Regions from separate parts of the Homo sapiens genome. Here regions 2 and 3 are each linked to region 1. Evidence: promoter capture Hi-C in 16 types of primary human blood cells and fetal thymus (Javierre and others, 2016). All regions are on one chromosome and are shown on one strand. The core of a region is centred on a gene start or on the middle of the fragment in contact, and the rest is flanking DNA. Distances in the headings are between cores, read along the strand shown. Region 1 holds the start of UPK1A-AS1 (UPK1A antisense RNA 1). Region 2 holds the start of LINC01531 (long intergenic non-protein coding RNA 1531). Region 3 has its middle 26 kb from the start of SDHAF1.

What was found. The method cuts DNA at HindIII sites, captures the fragments that hold promoters and counts their contacts. A CHiCAGO score of 5 or more calls a contact.
Region 2: the fragment with the promoter of LINC01531 here is called in contact with the fragment with the promoter of UPK1A-AS1 in region 1 in 5 of 17 cell types (monocytes, neutrophils, M0 macrophages and 2 more); the score reaches 9.2 in monocytes.
Region 3: a fragment that was not itself captured here is called in contact with the fragment with the promoter of UPK1A-AS1 in region 1 in 1 of 17 cell types (M1 macrophages); the score reaches 6.1 in M1 macrophages.

The regions. Positions count from the first base shown.
Region 1 is chr19:35,671,496-35,675,801 of GRCh38, reverse strand. UPK1A-AS1 (UPK1A antisense RNA 1) reads left to right here and starts at 2,511. Exons shown (of 2, transcript NR_046420.1): 1 at 2,511-2,567. It overlaps UPK1A (uroplakin 1A), which reads right to left. Exons shown (of 8, transcript NM_007000.4): 4 at 2,496-2,570; 5 at 2,257-2,364. The HindIII fragment of the contact is 2,419 bases long and covers 1,249-3,667 here.
Region 2 is chr19:35,403,558-35,407,851 of GRCh38, reverse strand. LINC01531 (long intergenic non-protein coding RNA 1531) reads right to left here and starts at 2,245. Exons shown (of 5, transcript NR_040046.1): 1 at 2,171-2,245; 2 at 1-1,267. The HindIII fragment of the contact is 14,783 bases long and covers 444-4,294 here.
Region 3 is chr19:35,966,819-35,971,792 of GRCh38, reverse strand. No RefSeq gene overlaps it. Among named protein-coding and RNA genes, the nearest start is that of SDHAF1, 26 kb to the left of the region's middle. The HindIII fragment of the contact is 2,546 bases long and covers 1,864-4,409 here.

The DNA of each region.
Region 1 (4,306 bases), core at 1,262-3,761:
AGAGAGGACAGTTGCTTGCCTGAGGTCACACAGCAAGGAGGGGCAGGATTGGCCTTTGACACAGCTGGGCCCAACTTCCCCATGTCCTGGGCCTCCAAGCGAGTGTGTCCGGTGGGTGTCTGTGTGTGTGAGCACGGTGCAGACAATATTTGTCCCAGGACCAGGAGGCTGATGGGGGATTTGGATTAAACCTGCACCTCTGACTTATTTTAAAATATTTTTGCCGGGCACGGTGTCTCACGCCTGTAATCCCAGCTCTCTGGGAGGCCGAGGTGGATGGATCACCTGAGGTCAGGAGTTCGAGACCAGCCTGACCAACATGATGAAACCCCGTCTCTACTAAAAATACAAAATTTGCCGGGTGTGGTGGTGGGCGCCTGTAATCCCAGCTACTTGAGAGGCTGGGGCAGGAGAATTGCTTGAATCCGGGAGGTGGCGACTGCAGTGAGCCAAGATCGTGCCACTGCACTCCAGCCTGGGAATCAAGAATGAAACTCCATCTCAAAAAATAAAATAAAATAAAATATTTTTATCAACAACTATGCTGATAAAATAACACAAAAAGGGCAGATTTCTGGCTTTTCCTGGCCTTGGTAAGGAATCCAGGTGTTTAATTTGTGGCTCCTGAATGAGGAAAACATAGGCTTGGGCACCCTTCAAACATGGGTTCAAATCCTGGCTAGCTAGAGGACTTGGGCCACATTGACGCCTCAGTTTTCCTTGAGTCCTCAATTTCTTCTTCTTTTTTTTTTTTTTTTTTGAGACGGAGTCTCCCTCTGTTGTCCAGGCTGGAGTACAGTGGCGCCATCTTGGCTCACTGCAACCTCCCCCTCCTGGGTTCAAGTGATTCTCCTGCCTCAGCCTCCCAAGTAGCTGGAATCACAGGCGCACACTACTACACCTGACTAATTTTTGTATTTTTTGTAGAGACAGGGTTTCACCATGTTGGCCAGGATGGTCTTGAACCCCTGAACTCAAGTGATCTGCCCGCCTTTGCCTCCCAAAGTGTTGGGATTATAGGTTTGAGCCACTGCACCCAGCCAATTTCTTCCTTTTCCAGTGCAATATCATGTTGGATTTGAGGAAGACTGTATCTCTTCAAACCTGGAAGTCTGAGTTTGAATCCTTCCAGTTCTGTGACCTACCAGGTGTGTGACCTCATGCAAGATATTCAACCTCTTGCTTTGGTCTCCTCATCACTAAAAGGCCGATCTCCCTTATGGAGTGGTCGTGAGGATTAAAAAAGCTTTAAAAGTGCTTTGAAAGGCTGGGCACGGTGGCTCAAGCCTGTAATCCCAGCACTTTGGGAGGCCGAGGCAGGTGGATCACAAGGTCAGGAGATCAAGACCATCCTGGCTAACACCCATCTCTACTAAAAATACAAAAAATCAGCTGGGCGCGGTGGCAGGCGCCTGTAGTCCCAGCTATTCGGGAGGCTGAGGCAGGAGAATAGCGTGAACCCGGGAGGCGGAGCTTGCAGTGAGCCGAGATCGCGCCACTGCATTCCAGCCTGGGCGACAGAGCAAGACTCTGTCTCAAAAAAAAAAAAAAAAAAAAAAAGATAAAAAGAAAAAAAAAAATGTGCTTTGAGGCCAGGCACTCGTGGCTCATGCCTGTGATCTCGGCACTTTGAGAGGCGGAGGTGGGAGAATCGCTCCAATCCTGAGCCCAGGAGTTCCAGACCAGCCTGGGCAATAGAGCAAGACCCCCATCTCCACAAAAGATAATTTAAAAAACTTAGCCGGGTGTGGTGGGGCGCACCTGTATTCCCAGCTACTCGGGAAGCTGAGGCGGGAGGATCACTTGAGCCCAGGAGTTGGAGGTTGCAGTGAGCTATGATCACTCCAGCCTGGGCAACAGAGCAAGACCCCATCTCAAAATATAAAAATAAAAGTCCTTTGAACAGTGTGAAACCTAGCTCAGTGAATGGTGCTGTTACTATCATTGTTATTATCAACATTTCTGTTGAGGTAGTATGTGTAGGCTAAGAGCAGGGAGGTCAGGAGCTAGGCTGCCGGGTTCCAATCCCAGCTCCCACCACTTACCGACTGTGTGGCCTCGGGCAAGGGACTTTCCCTTTCTGGGCCTGTTTACTCATCCGCAGAACGGTGATGACCGCAGCCCTGCTCTCCTAGAGATCTCATGAGCGGATGTCTTTAAGGCACTCACTCCTCTAAAAGCTGGCACATCGGGAGCTCTATCGGCCTCTGTGGACGGAGCCCAGGGCCCTCCCAGCACCCGGTCCACCCCGCCCACCTCAATCATGACGCGGTCCCAGAGGCGGGTCAGCTCCTGGCCCTGGTCGGTGTCCGCGCTGTAGAAGGTCAGCATCTGCTTGGTGATCAGGGATGGGTTGGACACCATCTGAGGAGAACAGGGAAGAACAAGGGCCGGCAGGGCTGGGTGGGGAGAGAGGACGACCTCCGCCCCGCCGCGCCGGGACCCTCGCCCCTCCCATGCAGGTCAGGCCCCTCCCCAGGCCTCGCCGGGCTCACGTAGTCACGGTGGGTGTAGGACGTGATGCAGGAGGCGCACTCGAAGATGTAGACGATGAGCATGAGCACCAGGTACTGGGGAGACAGAGGGAGGACGGCCCGTCGGGCAGAGCCCGTGAAGCCACACCCCGTCAGGGAAGCATCACTGGGGAAATGCAAGTTTTAAAAAAGTTTGGGGCAGTGTGACTAGCAGCATCTATAATATGTGGTGGGTGTTCAGGTGTTCGCTGTATTGTCTTCCAACTTTTCTGTATTTTGAAATATTTAATTTAATTAATTTATTTTTGAGACAGGCGAGGCGTGGTGGCTCACGCCTATAATCCCAGCACTTTGGGAGGCCGAGGGGGCGATCACCTGAGTCAGGAGTTCGAGACCAGCCTGGCCAACATGGTGAAACCCCTTCTCTACTAAAAATACAAAAATTAGGGCTGGGCATTGGTGGCTCACACCTGTAATCCCAGCACTTTGGGAGGCTGAGATGGGAAGATTGCTTGAACCCTGGAGTTCAAGATCAGCCTGGGCAACACAGTGAGACCCCGTCGCTACAAAAAATAAAAATAAAAAAATTAGTTAAGCATAGTTACTACTAGTGGTAGTGTTAGTCCTAGCTATTTGGGAGGCTGAGGTTGGAGGATCGTTTGAGCCCAGTAGTTGGAGGCCTCAGCGAGCTATGATCGCACCACTGCATTCCTGCCTGGGCAACAGAGCAAAACCCTGTCTCTTAAAACAAAACAAACAAGGGTGGGTGCAGTGGCTTACGCCTGTAATCCCAACACTTTGGGAGGTTGAGACGGGTGGATCACCTGAGGTCAGGAGTTCAAGACCAGCCTGACCAATATGGTGAAACCCCATCTACTAAAAATGCAAAAATACAAAAATTAGCTGGGCATGGTGATGGGTGCCTGTAATCCCAGCTACTCAGGAGGATGAGATAGGAGAATAGCTTGAACCCAGGAGGCAGAGGTTGCAATGAGCCGAGATTGTGCCATTACACTCCAGCCTGGGCAACAGAGTGAGACCCTGTCTCTTAAAATAAAACAAACAACATAAAACGATGTTCTCAGATAATCAGAGACATTTGACACAGACTGGGTATTGGAAGATATAGAAGAACTTGATTGAATTTGGTGGGTTGTGCCAACGGCACAGAGGGCAGGAGAAAAAAAAAAGCTTGTCAGTTGATGTTTAATGCAAATTCTTTTCATGTCCTCACCTGGCACCTTCATCTATAAAGCAGCAGGAGGTTGCGTGTGGATGTGTGAACTCTGCTGCTGGGAGATGGATGACATTGCACAACCTCCTGACTGCTTTAAAACAATGTGCTTATCACTCAGAGAAATGTGTGCTCCAGTATTTACAGGCAAGTGACTTGGCATCTAGAATGTGCTTCAAAATACCCAGAAGAAAAAGTATGAGAGAAGGGGGATAGAGGAGACAATGTCGGGCAGTCTGCAGCTGATGTTGTTGAAATCAGGTGAGAGGTATGCAGGGCTCAAATACTGCGGACTCTAGTCTACTTTAGAAATTTCCTGTAAGAAATTTGGGGGCCGGGCACGGTGGCTCATGCCTGTAATCTCAGCACTTTGGGAAGCCGAGGTGGGCGGATCACGAGGTCAGGAGATCGAGACCATCCTGGCTAACACGGCGAAACCCCATCTCTACTAAAAATACAAAAAAAAAAATTAACCAGGCGTGGTGGCAGGTGCCTGTAGTCCCAGCTACTCGGGAGGCTGAGGCAGGAGAATGGCGTGAACCCGGGAGGCGGAGCTTGCAGTGAGCCGAGATCGCACCACTGCACTCCAGCCTGGGCA
Region 2 (4,294 bases), core at 996-3,495, 270 kb after region 1:
CGCCATGGGGGTGAAGAAGAGCTCCAAGCACAGCTCCAGCTGCAGCACCACGGCCAGCTGCTCTTGGGGGACGTTCTCATAGCAGATACGGAGCCCTCTGGCATATCTCATCATCTTCTTGGTAAAAACTAGACAATGAGCCAGGCATGGTGGCTCATGCCTCCCAGCACTTTGGGAGGCTGAGGCAGGCAGATCACTTTAGGTCAGGAGTTCGAGACCAACCTGGCTAACATGGTGAAACCCCGACTCTACTAAAAATACAAAAATTAGTAGGGAGTGGTGGCACATGCCTGTAGTCTCAGCTACTCGGGAGGCTGAGGTAGGAGAATCACTTGAACCTGGGAAGCAGAGGTTGCAGTGAGCCAAGATAGCACCACTGCACTCCAGCCTGGACGACACAGCAAGACTCCATCTCAAGAAAAAAAAAAAAGAAAGAGTAAGCTTAAATCTCCTCGAAGTGATCATTGAAAGGTAAACATTTAAAATAAAACTTGTGGCTGGGAGCAGTGGCTCACACCTGTAATCCCAACACTTTGGGAAGCCAAGACAGGAGGATTGCTTGAGTCAAGGAGTTCAAGACCAGCCTGGGCAACACAGTGAGAGCCTTTCTCTACAAAACGTTAAGAAATTAGCTGGGCATGGCGGTGTGCACCTGTAGTCCTCGTTACTCTGGAGGCTGAGGCAGGAGGATCACTTGAGCCCAGGGGCTTCAAGGTTACAGTGAACCATGGTGGCACCACTGCAAACCAGCCTGGGCGACAGAACAAGACCCTGTCTCAAAAAAAAAAAAGTTTAAAAATGAATAAAATAATGAGGCCTTAACCTATGACAGATAGCATATCACCTGCTGGCCCATCTGTACATCTCATTCTGCATTCGAGAACTTCAGAAGTAGAGGACCAGATGAATGGGAGTGGCCCTGCCGCCACGGGGCTGAGCTCCACCGCTTTTGTCCTGCTCCTCCTCGCCAGGCCCTGACCATCTCTCCACTGACTTGTCCTGGCCCCTTTTCCATTTCTGTGGCCTCTTCCCTCTCCTCCTTGGAGAGTAGCCTGTCCTCTGCTCCCTGCATGCTCTCCTTCCATCCCGTCTCTTCCTGGGGTTATGATCCCAGCAACCTCTTCCCTGAGCCCAGGCGAGGTCAGGTCCCTTGCCTTTTCCTGCAGGTAGATGGGTGGGTTTTCAAAGATGTCTGGTTTCAGAAGCCGGTGGCATCTTGTCTAACTGGACCACCTTTTCCTTTTCCACCAACGGCAGGCTTTTATACCTGGAAGAGTCATGTGGTCAAAAAGAGGAAAGTCAGTGGTTGAGCTCTTTCTAAAGCAGCTTGACCTTCTGGGTCTCCCACCAGATTTTGTCCCCAACAGACTTATTTCACCCAGAGTCCAATTTTTTTTTTTTTGAGGCAGAGTCTTGCTCTATCACCCAGGCTGGAGTTTAGTGGTGCGATCTCAGCTCACTGCAACCTCTGCCTCCCTAGTTCAAGTGATTCTCCTACCCCAGCCTTCCAAGTAGTGGGATTACAGGTGTGCAACACCACGCCCGACTAATTTTTGTATTTTTTGTAGACAGGGTTTCACCATGTTGGCCAGGCTAGTCTCGAACTCCGAACCTCAAGTGATCCGCCTGCCTTGCCTCCCAAAGTGCTGGGATTACAGGCGTGAGCCACTGTGCTCAGCCCAGAATCCAAATTTGAACAGTTTTTTCAGGCTTCCTCCTCCCCCTACATTCCAAGAGGTTGAATTCTGTTTCCTTCCCATGGGCAATTATCCCACACGACTACACGCACATCCATCTCTCACTTCCGCTTTTTCTTTCTTTCTTTCTTATTTTGTTGTTGTTGTTTTGAGACAGGGTCCCACTCTGTTGCCCAGGCTAGAGTTCAGTGGTGCAATCGCGGCCCACTGCAGCCTTCACCTTTCGGGCTCAAGTGATCCTCACACCTCAGCCTCCCGAGAAGCTGGGCCACAGGTGCACGCCACTGCATCTGGCTAATTTTTTGTATTTTTGGCAGAGACGGGGTTTCACCATGTTACCAAGAGTTGTCGAACTCTTGAGCTCAGGCAGTCCACCCGCTTTGGCCTCCCAAAGTGCTAGGATTACAAGTGTGAGCCACCATGCCCAGCCCCAAGTTTGTTTTTAGAAAAAAAAACCTAGCATTGTCCCTTGCCTATAACAGACACTCAAATCCTTGTGGAATGTAAGGATGGAGGTTGGATGTGCCTGTGAATACTTGCTAGCTGATGACACAAGCAAAGAATGTGTCAGAACCTGCGCCTTTTGTCTCCTGTCCTTTATCTGCATTCTGTTGCCCGGGTTACTGGTATGGGGACATCTTTGGTGCTGAGGTCTAGGTTCCAATGAGTCAAAGGGAGAATTCAAACTAAGTTGTCTGGCAGCACCCCAAGACTGTGCTGACCTCACACACAGCTGTATCACGGGAGTGGGCAGTGCATCATCTCAAATCCAACTCAACTGAGCAATGGTTCGGGCTGAGTCACACCATGTATGAATCGGGGGGCGGGGGTATGTGGCTCCTCTCCAACAAGCCACACTGTCTGCTTCCCTGTCACAAAACACATGGAGCCGTTACTCTGTGTGAGGTACTGTTCTAGGAGCTGGAGACAAGAGTGAACAGGATGAACAGAAAACAAGTAGACAAACCAACAAGGCAATTTTACAGGAAGAAAGGAAGTAGGCCAGGCAAGGTGGCTCACGTCTGTGATCTCAACGCTTTGGGAGGCCCAGGCAGGAGGACTGCTTGAGGCCAGGAGTTCAAAACCAGCCTGGTCAACATAGCGATACCCCGTCTCTACAAAAAGTGAGATAAAAAGTCAGGCATGGTGGCTCACACCTATAATCCCAGCTACTTAGGAGGCTGAGGCAGGAGGAGGATTGCTTAAGGCTGGGTGTTTGAGACCAGCCTGGGCAACATAGTGAGATCCCCTGTCTCTACAAAAAAGGATAAAAATAAAAAATTAGCCAGGCATGGTGGTGCACACCTGTAGTCCTAGATACTCAGGAGGCTGAGGCGGGAGGATCACTTGAGCCTAGGAGTTGGAAATTAAAATGAACTATGATGGCACCACTCCAATCCAGTGGTCCTGTCTGGGGGAAAAAAAAGGGAAAGAAAATAAATCGGCTAGGCGTGGTGGGGTTCATGCCTGTAACCCCAGCACTTTGGGAAGCTGAGGCGGGCACATCACTTGAGGTCAGGAGTTTGAGACCAGCCTGGCCAACATGGTGAAACTCTGTCTCTACTAAAAATACAAAAATTAGCCAGGTATGGTGGCGGGCACTGGTAATCCCAGCTACTCAGGAGACTGGGGCAGGAGAATCACCTTAACCTGGGAGGCAGAGATTGCAGTCAGCCGAGATCATGCCACTGCACTCCAGCCTGGGCGACAGAGGAAGACTCTGCCTCAAAAAAAAAAAAAAAAAAGGACCAAAAATCAAACAACAACAACAACAACAACAAAAAGCAAGCAGGGAAATTGAGAGAGAGAGAGAGAGAGATGGGCAGGGCCTGTCAGGAAAGGCCTGGGACATTTGAATGGGTGAGAAGGAGCCACTATCTGAAGAGCGTTCCAGGTAGGGGCACCAGCGGGAACTTAGCCTGAACCATGGCTCGGTTGAGTTGGACTTGAGATGTCGCACCGCCCACTCCCATGATGCAGCTGTACGTGAGGTCAACACAGCCTTGGGATGCTGCAAAACAGCTTAGTCTGAATTCTCCTTTTTTTTTTTTTTTTGAGACAGAGTCTCACTCTGTTGCCCAGGCTGGAGTGCAGAGGCGATCTCGGCTCACTGCAACCTCCATTCTCCTGGGTTCACGCCATTCTCCTGACTCAGCCTCCTGAGTAGCTGGGATTACAGGCACTCACCACCACACCTGGCTAATTTTTGTATTTTTAGTAGAGATGAGGTTTCACCATATTGGTCAGGCTGGTCTCGAACTCCTGAGCTCAGGTGATCAACCCACCTTGGCCTCCCAAAGTGTTGGAATTACAGGCGTGAGCCACTGTGCCCGGCCTGAATTCTCCCTTTGACCTCATGGAACCTAGGCCTCAGCACCAAGGATGTCTGAAGCTCTGAAGCTCTGAGGTGGGAGGAGGCTGGAGGAGGGGCCCTGGCTGCTCTGCCTGCAGCCACAGGGAGAGTGCACTGGAGCCAGCTGTAAAGTGCTGACTTTAGTTAGGAGCTGTTTGCCCTCAGCTGATGGTTACCTCATCCGTTGATCATATCGTCCTCTCCTGATCTGTGATACGTTCTGATAAGCTGCTGCAGCCAGTCA
Region 3 (4,974 bases), core at 1,887-4,386, 300 kb before region 1:
ATTGAGGAAGGAACACAGGAGTGTCAAGTCCTTGGGAAAAGAGGGATCATGTTGGTGAGAGTATAAGTCTGGAGCCCTGAGTATCTGAAGGTTCTGGATACCTGGGGTGGGGGCTACTGGATGCTGGGGAGCCTTAAGAGCACTGGGGGGCATCCTGACCCCTGAGTGGCAGGGCAAACTCCCAGGCGGTGTGGAGGCAGGTATGCAGCATCATGGCTTCACGTCTCGGGTCCTAGCTTTGCATATTTTCTGTGCTTTCCATATATTAGCTCATTTAATCCTCACTACAGCCCTATGAATCAGATCTTTTCATCATTCTCATTTCACATATGAAGAAATTGAGGCCCAGAGAGGTTAAATAATTTATCCAAGGTCACATAGATATCAAGTGCCAAACCGGAATTTGAACCCAGGCCACCATTGTTTTTCTATAGTGGTGCTGAGGGGTGGCCTAGTGTGGCAAGCCACATCTCATGAACGCAGGCCTCCATAACAACTGTTTTAGCACTGACTGTGGTTGGGTTAAATACTAAAAGCTGATAGAGGCCAGGAGCGGTGGCTCACGCCTGTAAGCCCAGCACTTTGGGAGGCTGAGGCAGGAGGATCATCTGAGGTCGGGAGTTCGAGACCAGCCTGGCCAATATAGTAAAGCCCCGTCTCTACTAAAAATACAAAAAAAATTAGCTGGGCATGGTGGTGCACACCTGTAATCCCAGCTACCTGGGAGAGTTGAATCTGGGAGGAGGAGGTTGCAGTGAGTTGAGATGGCGCCACTGTGCTCCAGCCTGGACAAGAGAGTGAGACTCCGTCTCAAAAAAGAAAAAAGAAACAAAACAAAAAACGCTGGTAGAGCCAGCGTCCATACAAAGGCTGGAATGTAACAAAAGCTCACCAAGAGTTTAGGCCAGGCCTTTCCTGGCCCTTGAGGCATGACAAGATCATGAAGGAATTCCTTTATTTTTTGTTTTTTTGAGACAGAGTTTCACTCTTGTTGCCCAGGCTGGAGTGCAATGGCGCGATCTCAGCTCACCACAACCTCCACCTCCCAGGTTCAAGCAATTCTCTTGCCTCAGCTTCCCGAGTAGCTGGGATTACAGGCATGCGCCACCATGCCCAGCTAATTTTGTATTTTTAGTAGAGATGGGATTTCTCTGTGTTGGTCAGGCTGGTCTCGAACTCCCGACCTCAGGTGATCCTCCCGCCTCAGCCTCCCAAAGTGCTGGTATTACAGGCATGAGCCACCATGCCCAGCCTCACGAAGGAATTCTTAACAGTTCCCATTTAAGATTATACAAGCTTTATTGGGGGTCTGAAGGAACTCCCCAGACCTTCACAAACAAGCTTTATTGGAGACTAAAGGAACTCCCCAAGCCTCCATAATTTAGCAGGAGACAAGATAAGGGTAATCACCCCAGCACCTGGACCCATTTAGATGAAGTAAATTTACTCATGTAAGTTTGCATTCATCTAAAGACATAAGTGATTAATTTCTTCTAATATAGCCTAGAATGTATATAAGCTCTGGAAAACGTTATAATTTTGAGTTGATCTGGGGATAATTTCCAGGCCTTCTCCCTGTAATCAGTTACAGAAATAAAAATTCTCTTCTTTCCCAGTTTATTTGTGTCTCATTATTAGGCTGTGAGAATAAGCAGCCCAACCCTCGGTTTGGTCTGGGTACACTAGTACATCATAACCTTCATCAGGTCCCCCCAGCCAGCAACCCGGATTAAACATACTCTAGCCCCCACAACCTTCTAACCAGAGCAGAGCCCCTAAACCTTCCTGGAGGAGAGATTTGGGACATGCTAGTGGCTGCATGTGGTCCTAGGATATGTTCACAGCTCGGGGAATTTGGAAGCTTCATATGCCTGTGTCAGGAAATGATAAACACAGCAAACACCCCCTCATATGACACTTACCATGAGTTGGACTCTGTTCCAAGTGCTTTTCCTGTGTTAACTCATTCTCACCTCACAGGAACCTGCTGAGGGAGGAGCTAGAGAGCCACAATCCCTTATCTACCATCTACAAAAGCAAACAACAACAACAACAACCAAAAGACCTGAAGACTGAATATGTTTTGTGTGTTTGATGTTAAAACTCAATTATCAGCAAAAGCTAACCTGAACTCATGTGTGGCTGCTATAGTCTTAATTTATCCTCCTTTGTGTGACTATTCAGACATTTCACTGCAAAGATATTAATGTTTGTGATTATGTAACACACACTGGGAGTGTTATATAATATGTGGCATTTGCCTGGTTTGACCATTCTAAATTCCAAAATCTGAAATGCACCTGGCCCCAGACATTTTAGATAAGGGACTTTGGACCTGTATAATTGCATCTTTTTTTTTTTTTTTTTTTTTTTTTTTTTTTTTTTGAGACAGACTCTCACTGTGTCCCCCAGGCTGGAGTTCGGTGGCGTGATCTCAGCTCACTACAACTTCTGCCTCCCAGGTTCAAGTGATTCTCCTTCTTTAGCATCCCCAGTAGCTGGGATTACAGGCACCCGCCACCATGCCCAGCTAATTTTTGTGTTTTTAGTAGGGATGGGATTTCACCATGTTGGCCAGGCTGGTCTCGAACTCCTGACCTTAGGTGATCCGCCCACCTTGGCCTCCCAAAGTGCTGGGATTATGGGCATGAGCCACTATGCCCGGTAAACAATTTTTTTTTTCTTTGAGACAGTCTTGCTCTGTCACTCAGGCTGGAGTGCACTGGCACACTCTGCTCACTGCAACCTCTGCCTCTTGGGTTCAAGTGATCCTCCCACCTCAGCCTCCCTAGTAGCTGAAACTACAGGTGAGCGCCACCAGGCCCAGCTAATTTTTGTATTTTTAGTAGAGACGGGGTTTCACCATGTTGGCCAGGCTGGTCTCGAACTCCTGACCTCAGGTGATCCGCCTGCCTCAGCCTCCCAAAGCGCTAGGATTACAGATGTGAGCCACCGCCCCAGCCTATATCATTGCTTCTATTTTAGAGGTGACAAAAATGACCTGCCAGGCATGGTGGCTCACATGCCTGTGATTCTAGTGCTTTGGGAGGCCGAGGACAGAAGATTGCTTGAGGCCAGGAGTTTGAGACCAGCCTGGACAATATAGCGAGACCCTGTCTCTTCAAAACAATTTAAAGAGCCAGGCATGGTAGTGTGTGCCTGTGGTCCTAGCTACTTGGGAGGCTGAGGTGGGAGGATCACTTGAGCCCAGGAGATTGAGGCTACAGTGAGCTATGATGGCACCATTGCACTCCAGCCTGGGTGACTAAACAAGACCCTGTCTCGAAAAAGAAAAAAAGCTCCCAAAATTGATGAACAGAGAAGGATGGGGTCTCCCAAGATCCCATACACTGTGATTCTTATCTGGATAGGGCCACACTTGTGCTTGACAGCAGTGATGGTAATACCAAAGATGCACCCTGTGACAAAGCACATGGGCTGCCTCCCTTCAGGACAGGAGACCCACAGTTAGGAGGCAGGGAGGCTGCTGAGGAGGGACTAGGGGCATCAGCTCAGCATGTAGGTGCAGATCCCAGGCATGGGGAACAAGTGGTCATTGAAAATCTAGATGTATACTGGCCAGGCACGACGGCTCACGTCTGTGATCCCGGCACTTTAGGAGGCTGAGGTGAGCAGATCGCTTGAGGCCAGGAGTTTGGACCAGCCTGGCCAACATGGTGACACCCCGTCTCTAAAAATACAGAAATTAGCCAGGCGTGGTGGTGCACACCTGTAATCCCAGGTACTCGGGAGGTTGAGGCAAGCGAATTGCTTGAGCTTGGGAGACAGAGGCTACAGGGAGCTGAGACTGTGACATTGAACTCCAGTGTGGGTGACGGCAAGACCCTGTCTTTTTTTTTTTTTTTTTTTTTTTTTAGATGGAGTCTTGCTCTGTCGTCCAGGCTGGAAGTGCAGTGGTGCAATCTCGGCTCACTGCAACCTCCACCTCCCGAATTCAAGCAATTCTCTTGCCTCAGCCTCCCAAGTAGCTGGGATTACAGGGACCCGCCACCATGCCTGGCTAATTTTTTTGTATTTTTAGTAGAAACGGGGTTTCACCATTATTGGCCAGCTGGTCTCAAACTGCTAACCTTGTGATCCGCCCATCTCGGCCTCCCAAAGTGCTGGGATTACAGACATGAGCCACTGCGCCAGGCCCGACCCTGTCTTTAAAAAAAAAAAGAAATCAGGCCGGGTGCGGTGGCTCATGCCTGTAATCCCAGCATTTTGGAAGGCTGAGGTGGGCGGATCACCTGAGGTTGGGAGTTCAAGACCAGCCTGTCCAACATGGAGAAACCCCATCTCTACTAAAAATACAAAATTAGCCTGGTGTAATGGCACATGCCTGTAATCCCAGCTACTCAGGAGGCTGAGGCAGGAGAATCGCTTGAAGGTAGAACCTTCAAGCTTGAACCTCTACCCGGGAGGTAGAGGTTGCAATGAGCCGAGATCGTGCCATTGCACTCCAGCCTGGGCAACAAGAGCAAAACTCCTTCTCAAAAAAAAAAAAAAAAGAAAGAAAGAAAGAAAAAAAGTCTAGATGTATGGTAGCCCAGAGGCTCAGGTGGTAGCCCCTGTGATGGCCCCTTGTCCTTTGCTACAGTCAAGTCCTAATTTTGCCACAGCCAGAGTCTTTAAGCTTGGTTTAGTCACTGTCACCACCTTGAGCCCCAGCTTGGCCATGAGACAGTTCTGACCCAGACACAGATACTGTCTTGGTTTTGGACATGGTTGTAGACAATGGTTAGCTATGGGTTTGGTAGGTGGTATAGGTGCTGGTTCAGCTACAGCCAGAGTTGCAGGAAGTGGTTCTTTCACAGTCACAAGTCGAGGCACTGGTGCGGCTGCAGCTACAGGTTCAGGGCAGGGTTCATTTACGGTCACTTGTGCAAGCCCCAGATGAGCCATGGCCACAGGTTCAGGCTCAGGTCCCCCCAGGAGCACAGGCACAAGCCTTGGCTCAGCTTCAGGTGT